Regions from separate parts of the Homo sapiens genome. Here region 1 is linked to region 2. Evidence: promoter capture Hi-C in 16 types of primary human blood cells and fetal thymus (Javierre and others, 2016). All regions are on one chromosome and are shown on one strand. The core of a region is centred on a gene start or on the middle of the fragment in contact, and the rest is flanking DNA. Distances in the headings are between cores, read along the strand shown. Region 1 holds the start of TBPL1 (TATA-box binding protein like 1). Region 2 holds the start of MTFR2 (mitochondrial fission regulator 2).

Region 1 (6,134 bases), core at 199-2,698, 2.3 Mb before region 2:
TGCTCGAATATGTTTCTGAACACTCAGAGGGGAAAGCAAAAAATCAAGAGGCATCCTTGGAGATCTCGTAAATAATAAAATACCTAAATGGTTGCCTACTGTCAAAACCCCAAGAATTCAGCCCACGTCTTCTCTTTTAAAAAGGCAGTGGCATTTTCATTTTTTTCATCTGATTCCCACCAATCAGAGGCCAGGTACCCATGAACCCGGCTCGGCGTGGTCTTTTAATAATTAAATCAGGGCTGCCATTGACCTCAACTAACGCCAGGGGCTTCTGACTGCAGCCGAGCTCTGGTGGAAAGGCCGATGCCGGCCTGAGAGTGGGAAACGTGGGGCCGGGAGCCGGGGGCTTCCGCGCGGCGTGGCGTGGCGTGGCGTGGCGTGGCGCCCTCAGGGCCGTTACGCGATTTTCGCTCCCGCGGGCAGCGCCTCTCAGGCCACTCCCGAGGGACCCCGAGGACGCACTCGGGCCCCAGGGCGACGGTTCAAACGGGCCATTGTGCGCCCCCGGGGTCCCCCGGCCCCTGCAGGGCTACTTGGGCGCAGAGCCGCGGAGGGTCTCCGTTCCTAGAGGTCCTCCTATCCCGGGCTGCCTGAGTCCTCGCCAGCATCCGCCCTCTCCCACTCCCATCCTTCCTGGATCCGCCTCTCGGTTCCCGAGGGACAGTCCCGACCGCAAACCCACGTAGAGTAAGGAATGTGGGACAGGCGACAGAAGTGGCATACGGTCCTGCGTTATCCCTCCGTCTCGCCACACCTTGTGTCTCCATCTCTCCCCACTTCCTTCCCTCCGTCTGTCATCTGTCATCCCCGGTCGCTCTAAGACCAGGATTCCAATTCGCCTAGTGAGGAATCTCACTAGGGGAATTTATCGCGACATCATAAATTAACGGGTTCATTTTGACTGAAAAAGCGAAGGACTTTTTTCAGGCAGAAAACAAGTCTCGTCTGGACGGTAAGGACTAGCTTTAGCAATTATATAATGGGGGGTGGGGAGGACCTTTTGTATAAATTTAATGAGCTGATGAGAAAGTTCTACGGTTTTGACAAAAAAGTCCACCTAAATATTCGACTGTATGCCAGAAATTACTACACGTTTAGATATCAACTAAAAATATACAAAGGATACACGGTGTTTTCAGAACCCTTTCAAGCGGTTCTTAAACAAAAAAGTCTAGTCCGATGCCCATTAGCGCCGCCCCCATCCCACCTCTTACCTCCCACCGAGCCCAGCGGGTGGGCAGGAGGGGCCTGATTTGGGGACCAGGAAGGAGGAAGGAAGGGTGGGGGCGGGGGACGGGGAAAGTGACGGGAGCAGTGAGAGCCGGAAATGAGTGGCTAGCGAGGCACCCAGGAGCGCCCTGTCCGGCGGCGCTCTAGCCCTCGCGCACTGTCTCTATGCTCCCCAGCGTCTAGTCTATTTATTGTCGCGGGGAAGCTGCGGCCGCCTCGCACCCGGAACAACAAAGCAAGGAAGACGGAGTCCGAGCCTCGGGGGCTCCTAGCAACGGGCCGGGGCGGGAGTTCCATGGAGACTGGGGAGCGCGCCCGTCTCATCCTCATCCTTGTCCTCCAGCTTCTCCTTCGCATCCGACGCAACCGGCAGCAGCGCTGCCGCCGCGTCCTCAGCCACCGCTCCCTCTTCCCACGGTAACCCCCTAGGCGACCCTGGGCACAGGGAGCGCGGGCGGCTGAGCGGCCTGAGCACCGGGTGCGGGGCGTCTGGGCGCGGGGTGGGCATGTGCGGAGCCCGGGCCAGACTTGGGGTGGGATGTGTGGGGGCGGGCGACTGGAGGGCAGCCGCTGAGGTGGGGGAAACCGGTCCGGTGGCCGAGGGAGGGCTCAGTTCTGAAGAGGACCGGGCGATATTTGGGGATCTCTTTAGGGATAACGGGTTGGGGGTGGGGCGTCCGTACCTGGGAGCGTTACCGAGCCTGGTGTAGGATAAGAAAAGAAGGGTTATCTTTCGTTTAAGCCACCACTGGGAAAGACGGGGAAAAGAGATTCCTCATCTGTCTCGGAGCCATCACCCAGGGGAAGAGGGACCGTGCAAAGATGCTAGGGGTCCGTTGCTTCTCAGAAAACTTACAGCGGCTTCTCTAATAGCTCCCAAAAAGCGGCTTCGTCGGTTTCTGATTCTGGCAATGCCGGCAGCCTCGCTTTATTTTATTATTATTTTTGACCAAAATTAGGATTGATGGAGAAGGATCTAGAACTGAAGAAGAGAAAATGAATTGTGGGTAGGGCTAAGCAGGGATGAGAGTCGGGATAAGTGATAAAAATAGCCAATAAAAGCCCTAAAAGTAAATCTAATAGGGCATGAGGGCTTAAAAAGAAAATCTCTCCTGCCGAGATGTGCATCTGCAGGCTCTGTCAATGTGCTCATTGCAATAAGACTCAAACTGCAGTCAATCCACATCTGTGAGCTCTCTGACTGCATCTGTCACCTGCAGTTCCAAAGCGACACTGGCAGTAAGTGCATGAGCTTCTGTATTTAGGGTTTAGAACAGTGCCTTAAAACTGTGACTTAAGAAAAGGGAGCAGGTTTGCGTGTGTGTGTGTAAGCAATGTGGATTCTCTGGGAAAATATAAAAAGAGACATAAGAAGGTTCAGCCATCCTGGCATAATTTCGCAGTCTCTTTGAGAAAATGGCAGTTCCTTCCTATTGAGAAGTGACTGTTAGCACTATCTGGTTGAAAGGATTATTCACAGTTTGGTATGCCCAGTGAAATATCAGTTTATGTTACCTCTTTAGTCTTACATCACAAGCTGCTTAATGGTTTTATACTTTACAAAATCATTTTGGGTGAGTAAATGAGGTTTTCCTGTAGCACAATGAAAAGGCCACATATACATACAAAGTTCTTTATGTAAAGTTGAAGATTAAAGATGAAAATAAAATTGATAAATCATAGGAGCAATTAGGTCAACCACAGCTTCTGTTTGTTCCCCACCCCTTTTGTTAAACCTGACTTCTCCTAAGCAAAAAGGTGTCATCCTTTCCCCAGCCTCCTCTTTACGTACCCTCTGCCCTCAAAATCAGTATCAGAAACTCTAGTGACCTATTACTATGTGCCCTTGATTGGGCTGGCTTGTTCCTGAATGAGGGCTAGCCAGAATATAGCTTCAACTCAGGCGTTTTCATCTTAAGCTTTTAATATGGAATTGAGGTCCAGTGTCTGTTAAAGGAATTTCATTCATGTGTAAAGAAGTGGACAGGATGCAAAGTGTGAACATTGGGAAACTTAAGTTGCATTTTAAGACATTAAGAAGAAAAAGATAGATTAATGAATCAAAGACTGTTGCTTAATCTTTGTAGCAGTTCTGTGAAGGATATACTGGGATAGCCATACTTGAGGCTGTGGATGTTGAGTCCTGGGGTTATCTTTGTGCATATGAGACTTGACGAAGTGTCCCTCAACCTCAGGGCTGCCATCAGACTCACTTGACCCAGATCTAGTTTGCCGTTGTCTGTCTCTTCATTGTTTGAGTGAGGGTCAAGCCCTAGCTTCCACCTTTATTAACAATGCAGTGTCTGCTTTCCCTGCTCTCCTCCGCCCCAATACTCCCAACTTTGGTGGTAGTTTAGTTACTGTCTTTTCTTAATCATGTCCCAATCAAAAATGATTTTTTATGCTGTATCATTTCCGTTTCTTACAGCATTTTCAACATGTGTCCTTCGCCTGCATGTGCATTTCATTAATGTGATTTTATCTGTTGCATTTTCCTTCTGTACCCTCCTCTTTATTTGGAAAATTGGAGTGGTCATGTTAGATGTTCTGTATTCATTCTGAGTAACTGTTGGTTGTGAATACAACAGGTTAAGAGCCTCTGCTGAAACTCAAGAGCTTCTATTAAAATAAGGTATATTAAAATTTTTGAACTTAGCAGAATGAAAGACGTTAGAAGTCCAAATGGTAATACTGTAATTGTAGACGGTCACTTTTTAAAAAAGTATTGTAGAGCCTGTTCTGTGTTTTAAATTGAACCTTAGATTTTCATGATTCTTATTCTAAAAAAATTATTCTTAAAATCAATCTTGACTGAAATTATATTCTGCCAAATTTGAGGGAACTACTTATAGTAATTTCCCCAAGTTATTCTTAACATAGAAAATTGTCACATCAGCATTTGTGTGGATGAACACATATAAAATGCAGAATTTGCTATGAAGTAGAACAAATATTTATGAAACATATAGCTGAATGTTTTTGGAGAGAGTTATTTCTTCTCATGGACATGGCACATTATTTAAAAAAATCAGAAAATACTGTATAATCTAGTTGAGTGAACATGAGGACTGTTTTTAGATGAAGGATACCAGTAATAACCTAGGTGATTGATTTCCTTCTGTTTCATCATAGACCATGTGATGAAATTATTGCTATAAAATATGAACGTTGCAGTTGATTTTTAGAAGAATTTATAGTAGAATGTTTCCACATTGTCTCTGAGTTAAAATCTCTGGTGTTTTCAAATTTTAGCTGTATTGTGACATTCGAACTAATAAAGATTCCCTGAAACTTAAATCCATTTTGTTGTGCCTTCTGTATGTCTGGTGCCGTGTCAGGTGTGCAAAGCTGGATGAGAGAGGTATTTCCCTTCAGGTGCTTTTTGTGCACTTGTAGGTAGCAGAGAAATGACATGTGTGTAATAAAACATGACAGACACAAATATGAATTTTAAATTCTTTATTACATACTGCCTGGTACTGTCACTATTGGTGAATGGACTTCATCATGCCTGCTAAACTAGAAGTTTCTTGAGGATCAGGAGTATGAGTAGCCATCATCATATTGTATGTCCCTGCCCTGTGTGTGTATTTTGAAGATTACGTTGTTAATAGAAGGAGATACATGTTTGTTTATTTCACTTCAAGAGCTTAGCTAGTGGATGAAGGAAACCTTTTTGAAATCTGATTCTTGATGCCTAAAATTTCAACTTTGTATTCTGGCTGTGGGCATGCAAATTACAAGCAGTGACACTTTCTCAAGCATGATTACAGCTTCTAACCAATTCAAACAATAAAGATAATGGTGGACTGCCTTCACTTGAGTAGACACGATATTTGCTCTTGTCACATGACTACCACTTTGGGAAATTTCAAAAGGATGAGAGACTGTATACGTATCTGAGGTTTTTCCAGGCTACATAGACAAATTTGATTTTTGTATTATTAACCAGTCAATCTTTTCTTTAGAAGACAGATGGAGTTTGTGTATTTGTGTAGTTGTGAAAAAGCAAGATTCTGGAAGTATGTCTTTAGTGGAAAGGAATCAGGTCACATCAGAAATTCTACTTGTCTGTGACTAAAGGGTGATAAAATAGAGAATTTGGTTTAAATGGCTGGTTTTGTGGGTTGAAGCATGCTATGGATCCCATTAAATGTTTTTAAAAAAAAACTCAATAGGGTGATTTCTGGGGTAGTGGAGATGTGCCTTTGTGTGGGAGTCAATAATGAAAATGTTTAAAATTTCACCAAAAAGTACAGCACAGAAGTTTGGCTGTTGGTTACTTTCACCATCCATTAATAAAAAATACTGAAAACCAGACGGTGTGTTAAGGACAGAGTTTTCTTAGGACATATGTGGATGATTTCAGCATTGAATTGTGCTTAGCACAAGATAGACATCTGTGTGTAGACATTGGCCCATGGTATGTTTTTGTTTTTTAACTCACTAGGTGAGAACTTAAGTCTTACTTAAAAGCAGTAAAAAAATTTGTTTCCATTAATAAAATGGTTCCAAAGAATCAGGTGTTAACGTTCCCGCTCCTGATAAATTACAAGTATTTTCACTGTGAGACAGAAGAGTTTTGATCAGAATCAGTTACGTTTTCTTGAGATTGGGATTGGTACAACACTTAAAGAGTACGGACTCTGGATGCAGGCAGCCTGTGTTCAGCATCATGGCTGTGCTTTTAATTAATGGCATGGCCTTAAATATTAAATAGCTTTCTCACTGCCCTGAGCCCCAGTTTCCTCATCTGTACTAGGGAGTTAATACTACTACTACGTTACAGGGTTGCTGTGAGAATTAGCATAAAGCACTTAGAACTTTAGTTAAAAGCTTTAAAAAGTATTAGCAGGTGCTAGTAGCAGTGGCACTGGATATTATTTTAAAGGTGAACTGTT
Region 2 (6,330 bases), core at 2,380-4,879:
AATTATTTCAGTAATATGTTCAATGCCACTCAAAAATGGTTCATTCTTTTGATATTATGTGCTCCCACACTGCTAATGAATACACTACTGTAATTACTCTTAGCTAGGAAAAAAAAATCACAAAACGACAATATTTAGAAAAACTACAATTCCATGATGACTTCAGCTGGGTTCTCACAGGTATTCTGAAATCCCTTCATAACATGTTACATTCTATACCACATTGCCCAGAGCAGTCTCCAATCTCTGAAATCCCTTCTCAAATCCCACCACTTCATTACCTGCAAGTGACCTTGTCTCTGCTCTTACTGAGAAAACCGAGAACTTCAACTTGACATACCTCAACTTCACTTCTCTTACTTAGCTCCATTCAAAATCTCTTTTCAGGCCAGGCGCAGGGGCTCACGCCTGTAATCCCAGCACTTCGGAAGGCCAAGGCAGGTGGATCACTTGAGGTTAGGAATTCAAGACCAGCCTGGCCAACGTGGTAAAACCCCATCTCTACTAAAAATATAAAAATCAGTTGGGCATTGGTGGCAGGCTCCTGTAATCCCAGCTACGCGGGAGGCTGGGGCAGGAGAATCACTTGAACCTCGGAGCAGAGGTTGCAGTGAGCCAAGATTGCACCACTGCACTCCAGCCTGGGCAACAGAGCAAGACTCCATCTTAAAAAAAAAAAAAATCTCTTTTCACTCTCTCTCACTTTCATTCTGTTCTTTAAGGCAGGACAGTCTCTCTCCTTTCCAAGACTTATTTAATTAGATCCCTTGCCCAACTACCTTCTCAAAGGCGGTGCTCAATCCTCTCTCATGTGGATCTTAAATTTCTTCCTGTCTGTTTCTTCCAGAGTGATGACAAATATGCTGAAGTTACTTCTAACTTTAAAAGAAAAAGAAAAATTCCATCCTGCGGCCCCTTCAGGCTGATGGCCTCTCTCAATTTCTTTTCACAAGCAAACTTTTCAAAAGAAGGTTGCTGATCCCACCTCCCTTCCTGATATTCTTCAAACTACTCCAACACAGTCCCATTCTCCACTTACAGAAATTCTTAAGGTCACCAATAACCTAATAGTGATAAACAAATGTTCAGCTGTTATCTTCAGTCTCTCGATTACTGATATTTAGAATGTTTCAATCACATCTAATGACATTTGCCATTATCGAAGTCCATGGCTTTAAATATCAAAACAAAGCAGATAACTCCCAAAACTGAATCTTTTTCTTTCCTACATACTAAAACCATATATATATCCAATTGTCTGAAGGATATTTCTACTTATATGTTCTAACATCACCTCTGACTCACCTCATCTCCATATTCAAACTAGTTTCTCATACTAAGATGCCCATTTATAATAATGGTACTATGATTCTTCAACTTACTTTTGCTTTAAAAAAATCTTAAATTATCCTTGACTACTTTCTTCTAATTCACCCCACCCGTCTTCCTTACAATCTCATATTACAGTTATCTTTATTGTTTCTTATTCCTCATATTTTAAGCATTATGAATACAACCATGTATTACTCCTCTGTATTACCTGCAGAAACAAGCATATTGTCTTAGATACAGCAGATTTTCAACAAGTAGATAAAATTTGATTTGCTTATGATATGGTTTGGCTGTGTCCCCACCCAAATCTCACCTTGAATTGTAATTATCCTCACGTGTCAAGGGTGGGGCCAGGTGAAGATAACTGAATCATGGGGGCAGCTTCTCCCATACTATGCTCGTGGTAGTGAATAAGTCTCATGAGATGTGATGGTTTTATAAACAGGAGTTCCCCTGCACAAGCTCTCTTGCCTGCCACCATGTAAAATGTGACTTTGCTACTCATTTGCCTTCAGCAATGATTGTGAGGCCTCCCCAGCCATGTGGAACTGTGAGTCAATTAAACCTCTTTCCTTTATAAATTACCCAGTCTCCGGTATGTCTTTATTAGCAGCATGAGAACAGACTAATACAGCTTATAATTCTCAGGCCTAAATCATCCTCTTTCCATTAGATTTATTCTGGATTTATTGAGCTTTAAATATTGAACTTGTTTATAAATTACCTTGAATAGAAGTTTTAATGTATCTGTGCAATAAATGTAATTCTGTGAAGCTCATGTCTATATTTTGCTTCCTTTGTATCTTCTGTTGGCATTTGTCCTATCAGGTAAATATGTTCTCAATAATCTTATCCCTCTTCTAACTCAAATCATCAAAGCTATACTATTACAAACTCACCTTTGTTCCAACTAAAAAGAAGCAACAACTTTGCCTTAAATCAAATGATTACATATAAGTCATTTTCAAAATGAAACCCAAGAACAAATACAACAGATCCATTCCAATCCAAAACGACATTTACCTGTTCTACAGGAACGCCAAAATATTCCAGCATCTCTCTTAAGATATTCAGTATGAGAGACATTGATGAAGCAAATACAGAAGCCAATTCAAAGGAACATTATCAGTTTCTTGGTGCCTTTGGGGAAAATTTTAGAAAATGTTACTCTTGACAAATAAATGCCAAATTGTACTACATAACCTGGAAAAGTCCTCTTGATACACGACACAGTCAACTAATTTCTCCTAGCCAGCATTCTTTTAAGTCAGAGAAAAAGAAAGGAAGGGGAAGTCTGGGGGAAAGAGAGGGTTGTAAAGGAAATTTCAATTAATTGGTTAGATTACATTAAAACCTCGTAGGATGTTTGAGCCTAGTTAATAGAGACCAATCAACAAACTGGACATCTACTTAGTAGGCAAGGCTTCAAGTTACATGCCACAGCGAAGCTCGCTCTTTCCTGAAAGCTTTGGGCTGAGACTCTTAGCAGATGGGTGAGTTTAGCCAACCCTTGAAAGCAGGCAAGGGACGACTCAGTTTTTAAAAAAATAAACAGTAGCTCTTCTCACACACATATCCTCACGTGTCAAGGGTGGGGCCAGGTGAAGATAACTGAATCATGGGGGCAGCTTCCCCCATACTATGCTCGTGGTAGTGAATAAGTCTCATGAGATGTGATGGTTTTATCAACAGGAGTTCCCCTGCACAAGCCCTCTTGCCTGCCACCATGTAAAATGTGACTTTGCTACTCATTTGCCTTCAGCAATGATTGTGAGGCCTCCCCAGCCATGTGGAATGCCCATCCCTCCTCACTCTTTTAAAATGAGAAGCATGAATTCCAGATACGGGACGTGACTTGGTCACCCATCTAGTAACAGGCCGTGACCAGAGCCGGATCGCGTCCCTCGCTTTGGTCACAAGCTTCCTGGTGCTCTCCAAACACAGCGTGGTAGCCTTGCTCACCTTCCTCCGAAGCCGAGCCCCCGGGAATCACCAGAACATCAAGCGGAGGGCGTTAGGAATCCTCAATCAAATTCCAGACTGCGCCACTCCTTGTGCAGATCGCTCAGACGTCTACCCAGACCTCGACCCAGTTTCCACCCGCGCGCCTCGGCTTGCAGCCACAGGCGGTAACGATGCCCTCAGCGAGGAATAAGAGGTCAACCCGGTGCCCAGCCCTGGAGCCTCACGCTCAGCCAGGGTAATGTTATGGGAAGCGCGCCCCCGTCCTCCTGCGCCCAACCAACCCACCTGCTAGTCCCTAGGACCGGACTGCTACTTCCGCATGACAGGACTGCTACTTCCGCATCCCAGGACGAAATCAAACTCCGCGGGCCAGGACCCGTAACCAGCCTCATTGGGCAAAACTGAAGATCGCTGCTTCTGATTGGTCATTGCATGATGTCAGGCAATTCGGGAAGCGACTGCTTTTCCTTCTCAAGAGGCGGGTCTTCCGAGAGTCAGCCAATAGGAGCTGACGGGCAGGGCAGGTCGCGTTAGGACAGCGTCGCTCCCGCAGGGCAAGGTTTTAGGTACAAACTCGTGAGCTGGACTCGCAGTCCGGAGTTCGTACCCCACAGAACTCTTCGCAGGGAGTGTCTTACTCGCTACAGCCGGACCCTAAGCGCATCCGCCTTCCCAAGTTCATCTGACACAAAATCGCGATTTATTTTTTGGTCATTTCATTTGTTCAGCTAATATTAAAATACTTGTGGAACTGGCAGAAGCCAAGCACTACCCCCGAGGGTTTTGCAGCTTTGCAGTGGCTAGGATTCATTCTTTCGTTCACTAAATACACCTACGTATCCAGGCTACCGAATATTGGGCCGGACACTCTCCTGGCTTAGCCGAGGATGGCAAGTGATATGACAGGTGATATCCCAGTTTTCATTTCTGATTTGAGGTTATTGGCTTCATACGAAATAGCTTCCTCTTCTGAATTTCAGCAAGACGTGCACTGGAGTGATATAACAATTTAAGATGTGTGCCTGCTACTGACATAATTTGAAAATCTAAGTTTTGAACTAATTTATCTATGGTCAACATCACTTATTCATTCAACCAATAATAGATATCTACTACGTAGCAGACACCATTCTAAGCACGGAAAATACCTTAATGAGAGGGCAGGTCCTCGTCCTCCTGGAGCTTACAGGCCAGCGGGGCATCTCGTTCCATTCTAACCCTAATTTGCTTTTCTCTATAGCACTTATCATATATATTTAGTTACGCTTCCACTACCACCAAACAAAATTGTAGACTCCAGGAGAACAGGAAGTTGTTTTGATCCATGCTCTATCTTTCCCCAGTGCTTTAGAAGAGTGTCTGGTATATAATAGGCATTCAGTCTATTTGTTGAATAAAATACCTAAATGTGGAATGACAGAAAAGATGATAATGATTTGGGACTAAGCAACTAGCAAAACAATTGATAGCAATAATAGTGATATGCCCAGTAGAGCTGGATACGGCTGAGTGAGCGCAGAACAAGGATGATGATGGATCAGAAACCCTAGATGGAGTAATTTTCTCAAGTTCCTTGTCCTTCCCTTTGCCCTTGTGAATAAATCACGACTTTATAACCCCCTCCCTTTCCCACTCTCTTATCAAACAGCAAACAGACAGGGCCAGAATGAAAACATCCCTCCAGAATGAGAACGGAACCACTACTCTTCCAGCTGCACTATTAACATAGGTTAATATTCCAACTGATTTAAGTAGCAAGGAGGACCCAGGTCAAATACTACATCCATAAATGCTTTGCTGACAACTTTCTTCTAAATTCTTCAGAGATATTTCTTCCAGTTTACTAAAGCATTCATAATTCCATTTTGACAAAAACATTTTATGTGATTGGACATCTTTTTCCATTGCTCATTTTTACACGAAATTAGATTTTCCTGAACTCTTAGAATGAGATAGGGTCCAAGAAAGCTTTTCTGACATCACAAAGCTAGCTTTTCTGTTGTCTCTGAGTAGTGTTCAAAAATATAGTGGCTTGCTTTCTGGAGTTTTCCTGTGTTCCCCTCCCCCAGTTTGATCCAGGTAGAAAACTTGCTATTCACAAGCTGCATGTTAACACTTTTTAAAGTATCTAGTTGTCAAGTATTAGCTCATTATATTGAATTAGCTCACTATATTGAGCTAGTAAGTCTATGTCCCTAAGATTTTTTACCTACTGACTCTGATTTCTGTCCTTTAAATATGTAACATGTTAAAATGAGGAGATCGGACAAGTATCAAATACCAGTCTCCTGATCCTATGTGATTTGAACATGTCTCTTCTCTAGCAAAGCCTTTTAAGGATTTGAACACAGCAATCAAGAACCTATCTTGGCTGGGAGCGGTGGCTCACGCCTGTAATCCCAGCAATTTTTAAGACAGCCCAGATTGTATTTGTTTCAAGCAGCAGCAGCAGACATAAAATTAAATCAAGCCTTTATAAATACGCAATTATCATTCTTTCATTTATACACACTCAAGGACCATTTATTACATAACTACAGTATGTATGCCATGCACAATACTAAATGCTAAAATTTTATTCTGGTGGAGACATGTAAATGGAATGAATTACTAGCCTAAAGGTATGTGCTGCATTCAGTGGCCCCTGAGCAAAAAGAGGAATTGGAAATTTTTTGCTAGGGTGTAAGACTTAAGATAGGTAAGTGAACAAGGAGTAGCATAAGGCAAAGTGGCCAAAAACAGTACATAGGGAGTTCCTACAGCTCATCATGACTGAGGTTCAGACAACAGGAAGACATCAATGCGTAAATTTTGGTTTTAAAATGACTGTAATTTTGCACTTGAAAAACATCCCAGAGATGGCAATATAAAGATGAAATTTATGGGTAGAGTCCAAGCTAAGAGACCAATGCAGCAGCTAGGGATAGTGATGAGCATCTATTATTGGGGGTTGAGGGGGGACGGCGGGGCGGCAGTGGAGAGAAGACAGAACACTTTATAGGGATGTCCAACTAGCTTAATGGATAAAGAACA

The links. Contacts are between HindIII fragments. The CHiCAGO score rates a contact against its expected background, and 5 or more counts as called.
Region 1: a contact is called between the fragment with the promoter of TBPL1 here and the fragment with the promoter of MTFR2 in region 2, in 3 of 17 cell types (non-activated CD4 T cells, activated CD4 T cells and fetal thymus). The highest score is 10.2, in non-activated CD4 T cells.

What each region holds. Positions count from the first base shown.
Region 1 is chr6:133,951,776-133,957,909 of GRCh38, forward strand. It overlaps TBPL1 (TATA-box binding protein like 1), which reads left to right and starts at 1,449. Exons shown (of 7, transcript NM_004865.4): 1 at 1,449-1,650. LOC128092253 (umcharacterized LOC128092253) reads left to right here and starts at 1,529. Exons shown (of 2, transcript NM_001414965.1): 1 at 1,529-1,650. The coding sequence starts at 1,529. RefSeq lists a silencer at 447-556. The HindIII fragment of the contact is 10,274 bases long and covers 1-3,150 here.
Region 2 is chr6:136,246,682-136,253,011 of GRCh38, forward strand. It overlaps MTFR2 (mitochondrial fission regulator 2), which reads right to left and starts at 3,630. Exons shown (of 8, transcript NM_001099286.3): 1 at 3,295-3,630; 2 at 2,356-2,472. The coding sequence starts at 2,418. RefSeq lists enhancers at 3,080-3,299, 3,950-4,099. The HindIII fragment of the contact is 2,013 bases long and covers 3,251-5,263 here.